Regions from separate parts of the Homo sapiens genome. Here all the other regions are linked to region 3. The links are contacts of gene promoters, found by promoter capture Hi-C in blood cells and fetal thymus (Javierre and others, 2016). All regions are on one chromosome and are shown on one strand. The core of a region is centred on a gene start or on the middle of the fragment in contact, and the rest is flanking DNA. Distances in the headings are between cores, read along the strand shown. Region 1 overlaps USP37 (ubiquitin specific peptidase 37). Region 2 overlaps USP37 (ubiquitin specific peptidase 37). Region 3 holds the start of CXCR2 (C-X-C motif chemokine receptor 2).

Evidence for each region. Contacts are between HindIII fragments. The CHiCAGO score rates a contact against its expected background, and 5 or more counts as called.
Region 1: a contact is called between a fragment that was not itself captured here and the fragment with the promoter of CXCR2 in region 3, in 1 of 17 cell types (neutrophils). The highest score is 5.1, in neutrophils.
Region 2: a fragment that was not itself captured here is called in contact with the fragment with the promoter of CXCR2 in region 3 in 1 of 17 cell types (neutrophils); the score reaches 5.5 in neutrophils.

What each region holds. Positions count from the first base shown.
Region 1 is chr2:218,455,357-218,459,354 of GRCh38, reverse strand. USP37 (ubiquitin specific peptidase 37) reads left to right here. Exons shown (of 26, transcript NM_020935.3): 24 at 2,194-2,263; 25 at 3,637-3,775. Among named protein-coding and RNA genes, the nearest start is that of VIL1, 38 kb to the right of the region's middle. The HindIII fragment of the contact is 1,496 bases long and covers 606-2,101 here.
Region 2 is chr2:218,473,968-218,477,990 of GRCh38, reverse strand. USP37 (ubiquitin specific peptidase 37) reads left to right here. Exons shown (of 26, transcript NM_020935.3): 19 at 1,010-1,151; 20 at 3,106-3,361. Among named protein-coding and RNA genes, the nearest start is that of VIL1, 57 kb to the right of the region's middle. The HindIII fragment of the contact is 1,846 bases long and covers 1,848-3,693 here.
Region 3 is chr2:218,124,215-218,128,192 of GRCh38, reverse strand. It overlaps CXCR2 (C-X-C motif chemokine receptor 2), which reads right to left and starts at 2,165. Exons shown (of 3, transcript NM_001557.4): 1 at 1,840-2,165. The HindIII fragment of the contact is 2,247 bases long and covers 1,731-3,977 here.

The DNA of each region.
Region 1 (3,998 bases), core at 104-2,603, 330 kb before region 3:
CACACGCCTGTAATCCCAGCTATTTGGGAGGCTGAGGCAGGAGAATCACCTGAACCTGGGAAGAGGAGGAGGTTGCAGTGAGCCAAGATTATGCCATTGTACTCCAGCCTGGGCAACAAGAGCGAAACTCCATCTCGGGGGGAAAAAATTACCTTTAGTTACACTGAATAACTGTATCATCTTTATAATTAAATACCAAAAACGGTTGTTCCTCACTGAAAACTATTGAATTGGTGATGTTAATTAGGGCACATTGAACTGTTTTTTTTTTTTTAACCCTTTTTCCCCCCTTAAATAATTGCTTTTTCTCCTCAAATTTTGATTATCCAGGATCCTACCATCCTAACACAATTACTCTCAGCACTTTGACATATTTCTTTGTTATTCTCACCTCCATGTATACTTTTTAAAAAGTCGTAAGTATAGTTTTTATTTCATTTGCTTTTTTGTTCTAGAGACAGAGTCTCACTGTGTTGCCCAGGCTGGCTTCAGACTCCTGGGCTCAAGGGATTTTCCTGCCTCAGCCTTCCAAATGGCTGGAACTAGAGGCACACACTGCCACACCCAGGTTATCCTGTTTCTTAAAGAGTAGTTATTTATAAGCTTATGTTTAATGGCTGTACTATATTGCCTCAAATAAATATCCTACTTATTTAACTTTTAGCTAACATTGAGTATTTGTCTAAGTTGTTTTTAATTTTTCACTATGATAATAAGTTGGGAAACTGTATGCTTATAGCATTTTCCTTATTTTATTTTATTTTATTTTTTAATTTTTTTGAGACAGAGTCTCGCTCTGTCACCCAGGCTGGAGTGCAGTGACACGATCTCAGCTCACTGCAACTTCCTCCACTTCCTGGGCTCAAGCGATTCTTGTGCCTCAGCCACCTGAGTAGCTGGGATTGCAGGCATGAGCCACTATGCCCAGCTAATTTTTGTATTTTTAGTAGAGATGCAATTTCACCATGTTGGCTAGGCCAGTCTCAAATTCTTGGCCTTGAGGGATCCACCCATCTCTGCCTCCCAAAGTATGGGGATTACAGGCCTGAGCCACTGCACCTGGCCAAACATAGAGTTGTTTTTTTTTTTTTTTTTTTTTTTAGGCAAGGTCTGTCTGTCACCCAGGCTGGAGTGCAGTGGCGTGTGCTCTTGGCTCATGCATTTTCTATATTTTAGAATTTCTCCTTTTATATTCTCCAGAAGTAAATTACTAAATCGAAGTTTATGAACATTTTAAGTTTCTGGTTTACATATAGCCATATTCCTTCCCCCAATTTTTTTTTTCTTTTCTTTTCTTTTCTTTTTTTTTTTTTTTGAGACAGAGTCTTGCTCTGTCGCCCAGGCTGGAGTGCAGTGGCCCGATCTCAGCTCACTGCAAGCTCCACCTCCTGGATTCATGCCATTCTCCTGCCTCAGCCTCCCGAGCAGCTGGGACTACAGGCGCCCGCCAGCTAATTTTTTGTGTTTTTTTAGTAGAGACAGGGTTTCACTGTGTTAGGCAGGATGGTCTCAATCTCCTGACCTCGTGATCTGCCCACCTTGGCCTCCCAAAGTGCTGGGATTACAGGCGTGAGCCACCACGCCTGGCCTTCCTTCCCCAAATTTTACCTTATAGTGCTGTCTGCAGTGCATGAATATCACTTTTTCAGTTTTGCTTTATTTTACCAAAAATATTTTAATCATATTTTTTAAAATATAAAAGTTCACTCTGATCCCTACAGCAACATAGCAACTCTTTTTAACATTTTTGTTCTATTGTCCAATGCCTAACTCTTAACGTAACATTTTTTTAATAGAGTTATAGTTACTATGTGCATTCATATGGGTTTGGAAAAAAGGTTAACATGTTCCTGATCCATGTAGTTTTTTTATATAACTGAACATTATTATATTGAATTGATATACTAACCAGTTAGCTATTATTGGATATATTGTTGGTTCCAGCTTTTCACCAGATAATGCCACAGTAAATAATTTGATACATATACTCTTCTTTTGACTTATTTCCTTAGAATAAATTCTTAGTTGAGGGTGGAATTCTTGGGTCAAAGGGTATGAACAGATTTTTTAATTGATTCTTACTATGCCACATACCAAAGCTTAGCCATGTCAGCTTTGATAATAAATTTATATTCAGTGTTTTGCTTTTATTCAAATGAAGACTTAAAAGTTATACCCACTTCTGTTTTCCAGACAGGAAATCTGCCTCATTCGTACCGGCTCATCAGTGTTGTCAGTCACATTGGTAGCACTTCTTCTTCAGGTGAATAGCCATCATGATTTCAGCATTTTATAAATGAACTAGTCAGCATTTGCTCTTTATTATATTGCTCTTTGCCTAGCTTTGTGAAGTGTGTTTTTCTTTTTCTTTTTCTTTTTTTTTTTGAGATCCAGTCTCACTCTGTTGCCCAGGATGGAGTGTAGTGGCACAATCTCGGCTCACTGCAGCCTCCACCTCCTGGGTCCAAGTGATTCTGCTGTCTCAGCCTCCCAAGTAGCTGGGATTACAGGCATGCACCACCACGCCCAGCTAATTTTTGCATTTTTAGTAGAGATGGGGTTTCACCATATTGGCCAGGCTGGTCTTGAACTCCTGGGATCAAGAGATCCACCCACCTTGGCCTCCCAAAGTGCTGGGATTACAGACGTGAGCGACCATGCCCAGCCCACGAAGTATAAGTTTTTCAAGAAAATCTTTGAAATCTACTTTGATCACACTCAATGTGCATTGTGTTAATAGGTGTAACTGTTTTGATTTCTCAATTCATAAGTGACCTAAATTCCCCTGAACAAAATACATTAATCAAAAATGGTGTACCAGTGTAGCATATGCCTCCTTGATTCTCTGTGTATATACAAATATTTTTTTCTTCTTTTTTCTTTTTTTTTTTTTCAAGAGACAGGGTCTCACTCTGTCACCAGGCTGGAGTGCAGTGGCACCATCATTAGCTCATTGCAGCACTGAATTCCTGGGCTCAGGAGCTCAAGAGATCCTCCTCCCTCAGCCTGCTGAGTAGCTGCGACTACACGTGCATGCCACCACACCTGACTAATTTTTTTAAATTTTTTGTATGGACGGGTTCTTGCTTTGTTGCCCAAGCTGGTTTCAAACTCCTGGCCTCAAGCAGTCCTCCTGCCTTGGCCTCCCAAAGTGCTGGGATTATAGGAGTGAGCCACTGTGCCTGGCCTGTATGTTTCTTCAATGGGTTTTAGACACAGTGTTGAGGATAAGGTGAATGTGGTAGCTTTTTTTCTTTCTCAAACTTCCTGCACCTGAGATAAAATTAATGCGTTTTTGTTTATTTTTTTGAGATGGAGTCTCACTCTGTCACCCAGGCTGGAGTGCAGTGGTGCTATCTCGGTTCACTGCAACCTCCACCTCCTGGGTTCAAACAATCCTCCTGCCTCAGCCTCCTGAGTAGCTGGGACTACAGGCGCACGCCACCATGCCTGGCTAATTTTTGTATTTTTAGTAGAGACGGGGCTTCACCATGTTGGTGAGGCTGGTCTCAAACTCCTGACCTCGTGATCCGCCTGCCTCAGCCTCCCAAAGTGCTGAGATTACAGGCGTGAGCCATCGCGCCCAGCTTCGGTGTGTTTTTAAAAACCTTGATTTTAAGATGTTATTTGTTTCAGGTCATTACATTAGTGATGTATATGACATTAAGAAGCAAGCGTGGTTTACTTACAATGACCTGGAGGTATCAAAAATCCAAGAGGCTGCCGTGCAGAGTGATCGAGATCGGAGTGGCTACATCTTCTTTTATATGCACAAGTAAGAAACTTTGCCAGATTCTAAATAATGAGTTAGAAATCACCGGAACTCTTTTTTTTTTTTTTTTTTCCTTTGAGGATAAAATGTTTCCATCAGTTGATTGGTTGAAAATTTTTGGTTTTTATCATCTTTGGTTAGGGTCTATCTCTTGATATTTCCTTGTAAGTCCAGAATATTTTCTCTCATAACTCAGCATTAATTGCTCATTACACAGTTGTATCTA
Region 2 (4,023 bases), core at 1,521-4,020, 350 kb before region 3:
TTGTTCTTTGACCTTTACCACTTTTTTCTTTAGTTTATTTTCGGCTTACCTAGAAGACAACACAGTAACACCTTACTTATCTGGCATCATTAAAGGATTCCACATAAGTGAATTTTTATATAACTGAAGCTTACCTTTTAACGATTTATCTTTTAAAAGATTTTTAACAGTTTGGATGAAAATGTTTCTAAAATATGTTACACTGTTCCTTACATTCTTAAAATAACTAAGGATAATTTAAGTATATCTTAATGACTTAGAATCAGCATTTTAAGTATCAATTATTGCACTGTGTTTCAATATGATATTGCCCTCAGAGGCTCTTAATTATTACAAGATAGTTTGCTTTTACATTAAATGACTTTATAGTTCTTGTTTGCCTTTCTTGTGGTTATTCTTTCTCATTTCTTAGCTCTCATTTCTTGATGAACTTGATACACTATTTTATTCACCATTTCCTGGGAAAGAAAGGGTCCCTCTAAGTACATGGGCTTTGGAACTGCCTTCCTCAGAAGCCTTTTTTCTTACTTTGGAATCCCTATGTTCTGGAAAGTAGAGGTTGCCAGAAGTCTGACCTACAGATAAGTGGATAAGTGGAATGTTACTGTTATTTTTAAAGTGCATGGATCATAATTTAAAAGATCACAAATTAGTCTTCATGCACTTTGTTGTCAAAAACATTTATTCATTGCTATGCCTGCATGAATTCAATAGCATAATTTATAAAGACAATAGCAAATTTCATTGGGGTTGATCATTAAAAGAAAAAAGGCACAACATGATTAGTTTACTGATGATACGTAGTAGCATAAGAGTTGTCCAGTTTTCAAAGCATGGCTCTTTTGGAGTGGGGCAAAGGTAATGCTGAAATATACCTCTTTTGATATATCTTTTTTTTCTGTTAAGTAATTTTCCGTAATGGAAAAGCAATTTGTTTTGATATTTTTACAATAAAAGAATAACAAAGACAAATGTTTATCAGGCTTTTTTTTTTTTCCTTAAATTACAGGAAATTCACCTTCAAATCCAAGAGCTCCTTGGCTTTATGCCTTGATTCAGACAGTGAGGATGAGCTAAAACGTTCTGTGGCCCTCAGCCAGAGACTTTGTGAAATGTTAGGCAACGAACAGCAGCAGGAAGACCTGGAAAAAGTAAGTAATATTTTCTTAAAACATCTGACAAAGATTTGTTTATCTCTTACTGTCCAAACAAATGTCTTTCATAACCATCATCAAACTAATTAGTTTTAAAGAAAATGCCTTCTCTGGCTACAGAAATCAGTCTGTTTACAGATGGATCAAGACTTACGAGAAATTCGTTGTTCTAAACAAATTACTTTCTTTTTTTGCCCTTCAAAGCTACTTTTGCATATTCGTCCTCAAATAATTACTTGCTTTATTTTGGTAGCAGTTTTTTAAGACAGGGTATCGCTCTGTTGCCCAGGCTGGAGTACAGTGGTGTAATCACGGCTCACCACAGCATCGTTCTCCTGGGCTCAAACAATCCTCCTACCTCAGCTCCCCAAGTAGCTGGGACTACAGGCATGTACCACCATGCCTGGCTAGTTTTTAAAATTTTTTGTAGAGACAAGGTCTTACTGTGTGACCTAGGCAGGTCTAAAATTCCTGGGCTCAGGTGATCCTACCACCTCAGCTTCCCTAAGTGCTGGGATTACAGGCATGAGCCACTACTCCCAGCCTGTAGCAATTGTTTATGTGAGGGAACTGTAGTAAACATTTTACATCAACAGAGCAACCAAGTAATCTAATTGTTTAAATTATGGATTTATTAATTGGATTAATATATAGATAATTATATGGATAGTTAATACTTTGAAGATCTAAGCTTTTCTAGGTGTTTGCATTATCTTATGCTACTGTATTTTATTTTAAGCCTCCCTTTTAAATAATAGAATTATTTTAGTAGTTATTTTTGTTCTGTTTCCTATCTTACTTTAAAGCCAGAGGTAGTTTGTGGTTGTTCAACTTGAATGAGAAATGTGTGAAAGTCCAAAATTCTCCCAGAAAACAACTTTTGAATATTTACATAATCTTTTTTTTTTTTTGAGACGGAGTCTCACTCTGTTGCCCAGGCTGGAGTGCAGTGGCACGATCTTGGCTCACTGCAGTCTCTATCCCCCAGGTTCAAGTGATTCTCCTGCCTCAGCCTCCTGAGTAGCTGGGATTACAGACGTACACCACAACATCTCCCTAATTTTTGGGTTTTGGTTTTTTATTTAATTTATTTATTTATTTATTTTTGAGACAGACTCTTGCCCTGTCACCCAGGCTGGAGTGCAGTGGTGTGATCTTAGCTTGCTGCATCCTCCACCTCCCAGGTTCAGGCGATTCTCTGTCTCCCTAGTAGCTGGGACTACAGGTGCGTGCCACCATGCCTGGCTAATTTTTTTGTATTTTTAGTAGAGATGGAGTTTATCCATGTTGGCCAGGCTGATCTCGAACTCCTGGCCTCAAGTGATCTGCTGGCCTCGACCTCCCAAAGTGCTGGGATTACAGGCATGAGCCACCACGCCCAGCCTAATTTTTGTATTTTTAGTAAAGACGGGTTTTCGCCATGTTGGCCAGGCTGGTCTCAAACTCCTGACCTCAGGTGATCCACCGCTGGGATTACAGGCGTGAGCCACCTCGCCCAGCCTTCTTTACATAATCTTGATGTCGTGTTTATTTTTCTCATTTATTGTTAATAAGATCAGCTAACATTTATAATGGTGTAGTAGGCATAATGATAGAATATTTACTGTATAATCTATATATATCTGGAAGAAAATAAATTGAAAATACTTAGAGTAATTATCTCTGAGTAATCTATTTTGAATGAATTTATTTTATTATTTTTATGTATTCTCCAAATTTGTACAAAATATATACTTATTTCAATCAAGAAAAAATAATGTATTCTTATGTATTTATTATTTTTAAAGTTAGACTCACCATTTAGTTTATATATTGGTTATTGATTGTTAAATAACCCAAAGCATCAAAGAAAGGAAACTTTTTAGAAATAAAGTTGCTACTTTAAATACTAATTAAGATTGCTATATTTGTAGGTATTCTGGTTTCTTCTAAAAGTAACTCTCTTCTTCAGGATTCAAAATTATGCCCAATAGAGCCTGACAAGTCTGAATTGGAAAACTCAGGATTTGACAGAATGAGCGAAGAAGAGCTTCTAGCAGCTGTCTTGGAGATAAGTAAGAGAGATGCTTCACCATCTCTGAGTCATGAAGATGATGATAAGCCAACTAGCAGCCCAGATACCGGATTTGCAGAAGATGATATTCAAGAAATGCCAGAAAATCCAGACACTATGGAAACTGAGAAGCCCAAAACAATCACAGAGCTGGGTAGGTTTAATGAAGATTAAACCTCTGTGAAACAAAACATAACTCTTTCAAAGTTTTGTAGTGACAAATAACCTCCAAATAACGGGAGATAAATAGAAAAATTAGCTGAGCATGGTGGTGTGTGACCCTAATCCCAGCTACTCGGGAGGCTGAGGCAGGAGAATTCGCTTGAACCGGGAGGCGGAGGTTGCAGTGAGCCAAGATTGCACCACTGCACTCCAGCCTGGGCGACAGAGTGAGACTCCTTCTCAGATAAAAACAAATAAAGGGAGGTGAAGTGGATCTGTATATAACAGGGTTGATGGCATTTTCATTCTGTATTATAAAAAGCTTTGAAAAATGAGAAGCAAATATTGTGACTAGTACACAGATACTAGTGGTAAAGTATGCCATATCCCTTTAGGTATACATCACTAGTAAAACTAGCCTTCTTATGTGCATTTAATATATGTTTGTGTCAGTTCTGAGGTGCTTTTCTCACCACTGCTATTTCAGAAATTCATATAATTCTTTCATTTTCCTATATCTGAATTTACACCAGGTGTTAGGGTATAAATAATTCAAGTTCTCCATTCCCTGCACAATGCATTGCTTTTTCTATGTTTAGATGTATTTAGATACACAACTACTTACCATTGTGTTACAGTTGCCTACAGTACTCA
Region 3 (3,978 bases), core at 916-3,415:
CCAGGGCTAGCTGAGCAATTCTGGGCAAGTGACTTTTCCTTTCTGAGTCTCAGTTTACTCATCTGTAAAATGGGGCCAATACAGAATCCAACTCATGGGGTTGTGGTGAGGATGAAATGAGGGATTGCTTGTAAATCACGTAAAACATACATAAAGTACAATGTTAACCTTTATTGTTGTGATCATTATTACTGGAATAGTTTATTCACTGATAACATGCTGCCTCTCTCACTACATCCCCAGTCAAGGGAAAGCAGTCGGCAGTGGGTCTGCTTTCAAGGCTGACTTTGATGACATCTAATTTACTTTGACCTGGATATTAATTGTCATATTAGCTGTAATGTTGAGTGTCTACCAGGTTCTAGCTTCTGGGCAAAGTGCTTTCCAGAATTTGTATCAATTAATCCTCAGGATAACCTCACGAAGCAGGCACTTTCTGGAAGAGGAAATGAAGACTCTGAGAGGTTAAGCAACATACCTAGAGTGACACAGCTGAACTAGGTTTTCAGTTTAAAAAACTTCTAAAAATCTGCTCTCAAATCCTATCTCCTGTTCACTGTAATAAGGAGCAGGATCCCAGCCTAAAGTTTCTGAGCTCCATTAGGTACCTCCCTGTGTCCCAGAAAGTCAGATACAAAGGATGTAGAGAGGGGAGCCCAGATTTGACATTTCCCAGTCAGCCTCCTTCTTCATGCTCCTTAGGTCAATTTCATTTCCATGGAGATCACTGCGGTTATATGCAGGGTGGAGTGAATTAAAAAACTGGCTTCTGGTGCGGTGGCTCATGCCTGTAATCCCAGCACTTTGGGAGGCTGAGGTGAGTGGATCACTCGAGGCCAGGAGTTACAGAACAGCCTGGCCAACATGGTGAAACCCCGCCTCTATTAAAAATGCAAAAATTAGCCAGGCGTGGCAGCGCACGCCTGTAATCCCAGCTACTCCAGAGGCTGAGGCATAAGAATTGCTTGAACTCGGGAGGCAGAAGTTGCAGTGAGCCGAGATTGTGCCATTGCATTCCAGCCTGGGCGACAGAGCAAAACCCTGTCTCAAACAAAAACAAAACAAAAACCTGGCTTCTAATCCTGCTTGGAGAAGTCATTCTTTCTGGGCCTTGTTGTGTGCCTTTGGAAAACGGGAGCTTCTTCTAATTCTATTCTGTTCAGCATGCTAGCTACTAGCCATGTGTAGCTATTTAAATTAAAATTAATTAAAATAAAGGCCAGGCAAGGTGGCCCATGCCTGTAATCCCAGCACTTTGGGAGGCCGAGGTGGGCGGATCGCTTGAGCCCAGGAGTTTGAGATCAGCCTGGGCAACATGACGAAACCCTGTCTTTACAAAAACAAAAACAAAACAAACAAACAAACAAAACCCAAAAAATTAGCTGAGTGTAGCGGCACATGCCTGTAGCTGCAGCTACTTGGGAGGCTGAGGTGGGAGAATCACCTAGACCTGTAGGTTGAGGTTGCAATGAGCCAAGATCATGCCACAGCACTCCAGCCTGGGCATTGGAGTGAGAGCCTGTCTCAAAAAAGAAAAAATAAAATAAAATAAAATGAAATAAAAATTGAGATCCGCAGTCACACTAGTCACATTTCAAGTGCTCCGTGGCCACGTGTGACTAGTGGCTACCATACTGGGCAGGGCAGGTCTAGGACATTTCTATTATTGCAGAAAATTCTTTTGTGCAACACTGTCTAGGTGAAGACTTAGTTGTCTTTAGCTCTAAGCTTCTACACTTCATCACCCCAGTTCTCAGGGGCCTCAGAGGAGGCTGAAGTTTCCAGATCTCTTCCATTAGAAATATGTTGCCAGCATCTCAGACTGAACAAGTCACCTACCTGCTGTTATTGGAGTGGCCACCGATGTCTTCACTGTGCCTCAAGGTTGGGTGGTAGTCAGAGCTGTTAGACAGGAAAAAAAAGATGAAACAACCTTGACGATGAAACTTCTGACCTGGGTTGCAAGGGGGAAATCCAGGATGCCCTCCTGGGGAGGTATTCCCACAGAGGAACAATGAGGTCTGTCCTGGGACTTTGGCCCAGGACAGGTGCCACTTAGTGATTCTGGGATGAGTGCTGGGGATTTTCACATCTTCCTGTCTGATGGCTTCTGGAGGAGCCTACCAGTCTGAAGGTGGAGATTTGTCTATCCACCTTCTGTCTCTGAATGTTTTGAACCTGCACTTCCTTTTTTAACAAGGAAGATGCAGGCATCCCAGCCCCCGCCAACGGACTTGTCTGAACTCGCACGCAGTTTCTTCCTTCTTTCCGGGGTCAGAGTGAGAAGCGTCCCTCCTTCTGTTTCTGTTGAATCCCCGCACCTGACTGTGGGACCCACTGCCTCTCTGGTCCTTGAGGATCCTGCTTTCTCTCCCCTCTGTCCTGGCTCTTTCCCTTCTACCACATCTTACTTATGGCTTTATCATGCTCCCTCTGTCCTAGCACCCTTCAGCCACCACAGCTGCTCTCTCCACTTCCTCACCTCCCCTCTGCTGCTCAACAAAGACACTGCAACTGGCTTCCTTCCTACTGCTCCACTGAAATAACTTTCGCCAAGGTTCCCAATGACCTCTGGGTTACTAAACCCAGCAAATCCATTAAAAAAAAAAACAAAAACAAATTGCTTTCTTTCCCCCCAAGACAACAGATTGGAGGCAGCATTAGCATGCCTCTCCCATCTGGAAGGACAGAATAGCGTGTAGAGATTCACACTATAATTTTTTTTTCTCCAGGAACGAATGCAGGAACTGAACAGGAAAGCTGAAAGAATCCACAGAACTTTTGAAAGAAGTGGCAGGCTGCAGCCTACTCTGTGAGACAGGCAAAAACTCACCTCTAGGCAGAATAGCACTGTACCCAGGAAGGAGAAAACGGCTGCATATTCTCAGCTATCACCACTGCTTACAACACCCTGGCTAACCAGAAGTCCTGCGTCTGTCCACGTGATAAGTTCACTATAATTATAACCAGCATTTGAGAAAGTCAATACTCTAAGTCTATCTACAACCAAGGAATCTTGCAGAGTTTGCATCACTCCCCTCCCACTTCTGTCAGAGATGGTGCTGGTATTCACTGCTGGGAGTCTTGAAGACAGGTAACACCACTGGATCCCTTGCAGACATTCCCTAGCACCAGCCCAGAGTCTGGTAGGCCCACTGGGTGGCTAGACCCAGAAGAGCACTGTAGTCTGGCTTCCAGGAAGTCCCATTCCTAGAGGAAGGGGAAGAACATCACATCAAGGGAATACCCTGTGGAACAAAAGAATCTGAATGGCAGGGCTTGAGTCCCAGATCTTTTCACTGGTGGGAAGTTTCCTATTGCAGAGACAATTGCTGTGCTGGGCAGAGTGGGGGAAAGTTTGCACCTCTACCCAATAGGCAGGCAGCCTCTGGTATTGTGAAGGGTCTTAGAGAAGGGATCCTTGTTCCCCCTGGTACGCCACTGCAGACAGAGCTGGGGCTTCTCCCAAAGGAACGCAGCATTGATGCACCTATAGACAGCCTTCCTGGAACAAATCAGGGTGATTGCATCCCCACGGGAGGAGCACTCCCCAGATTCAGGTTTGCATGACAGGCAGTCACAATTCCTCTCTACTTGGAACATCAACATTTCTACAGATGAAAATAACTGCCTGTCTGATCTGAATAGCTGGAACACTGGGAAAGGAGTGAAGCTGGGAGGTGGATAGCTTTCCAGCTGGCCTAGTGGGGGACCTGAGGTAGCTCCTACCCTTCACCCTGACAAAACCTCAGCACATCTAATTGAGAGCTCTCCCAGGCACTCTCATCAAGGCTGGGATCTCTGCCCACCTGCTTTAGCTACAACCGGTGCCTACCCACCTACTTTAGCTACATCTGGTGCCTACCCAGGGATACTTCCCCTACTGGTCCAAAGCCTGAATCAACTCAGTAAGTAAAATACTGGGGAAAAATTAAATAAATAAATAAAGAGTACCCCACGAGAGAATGAGGTAAGCTT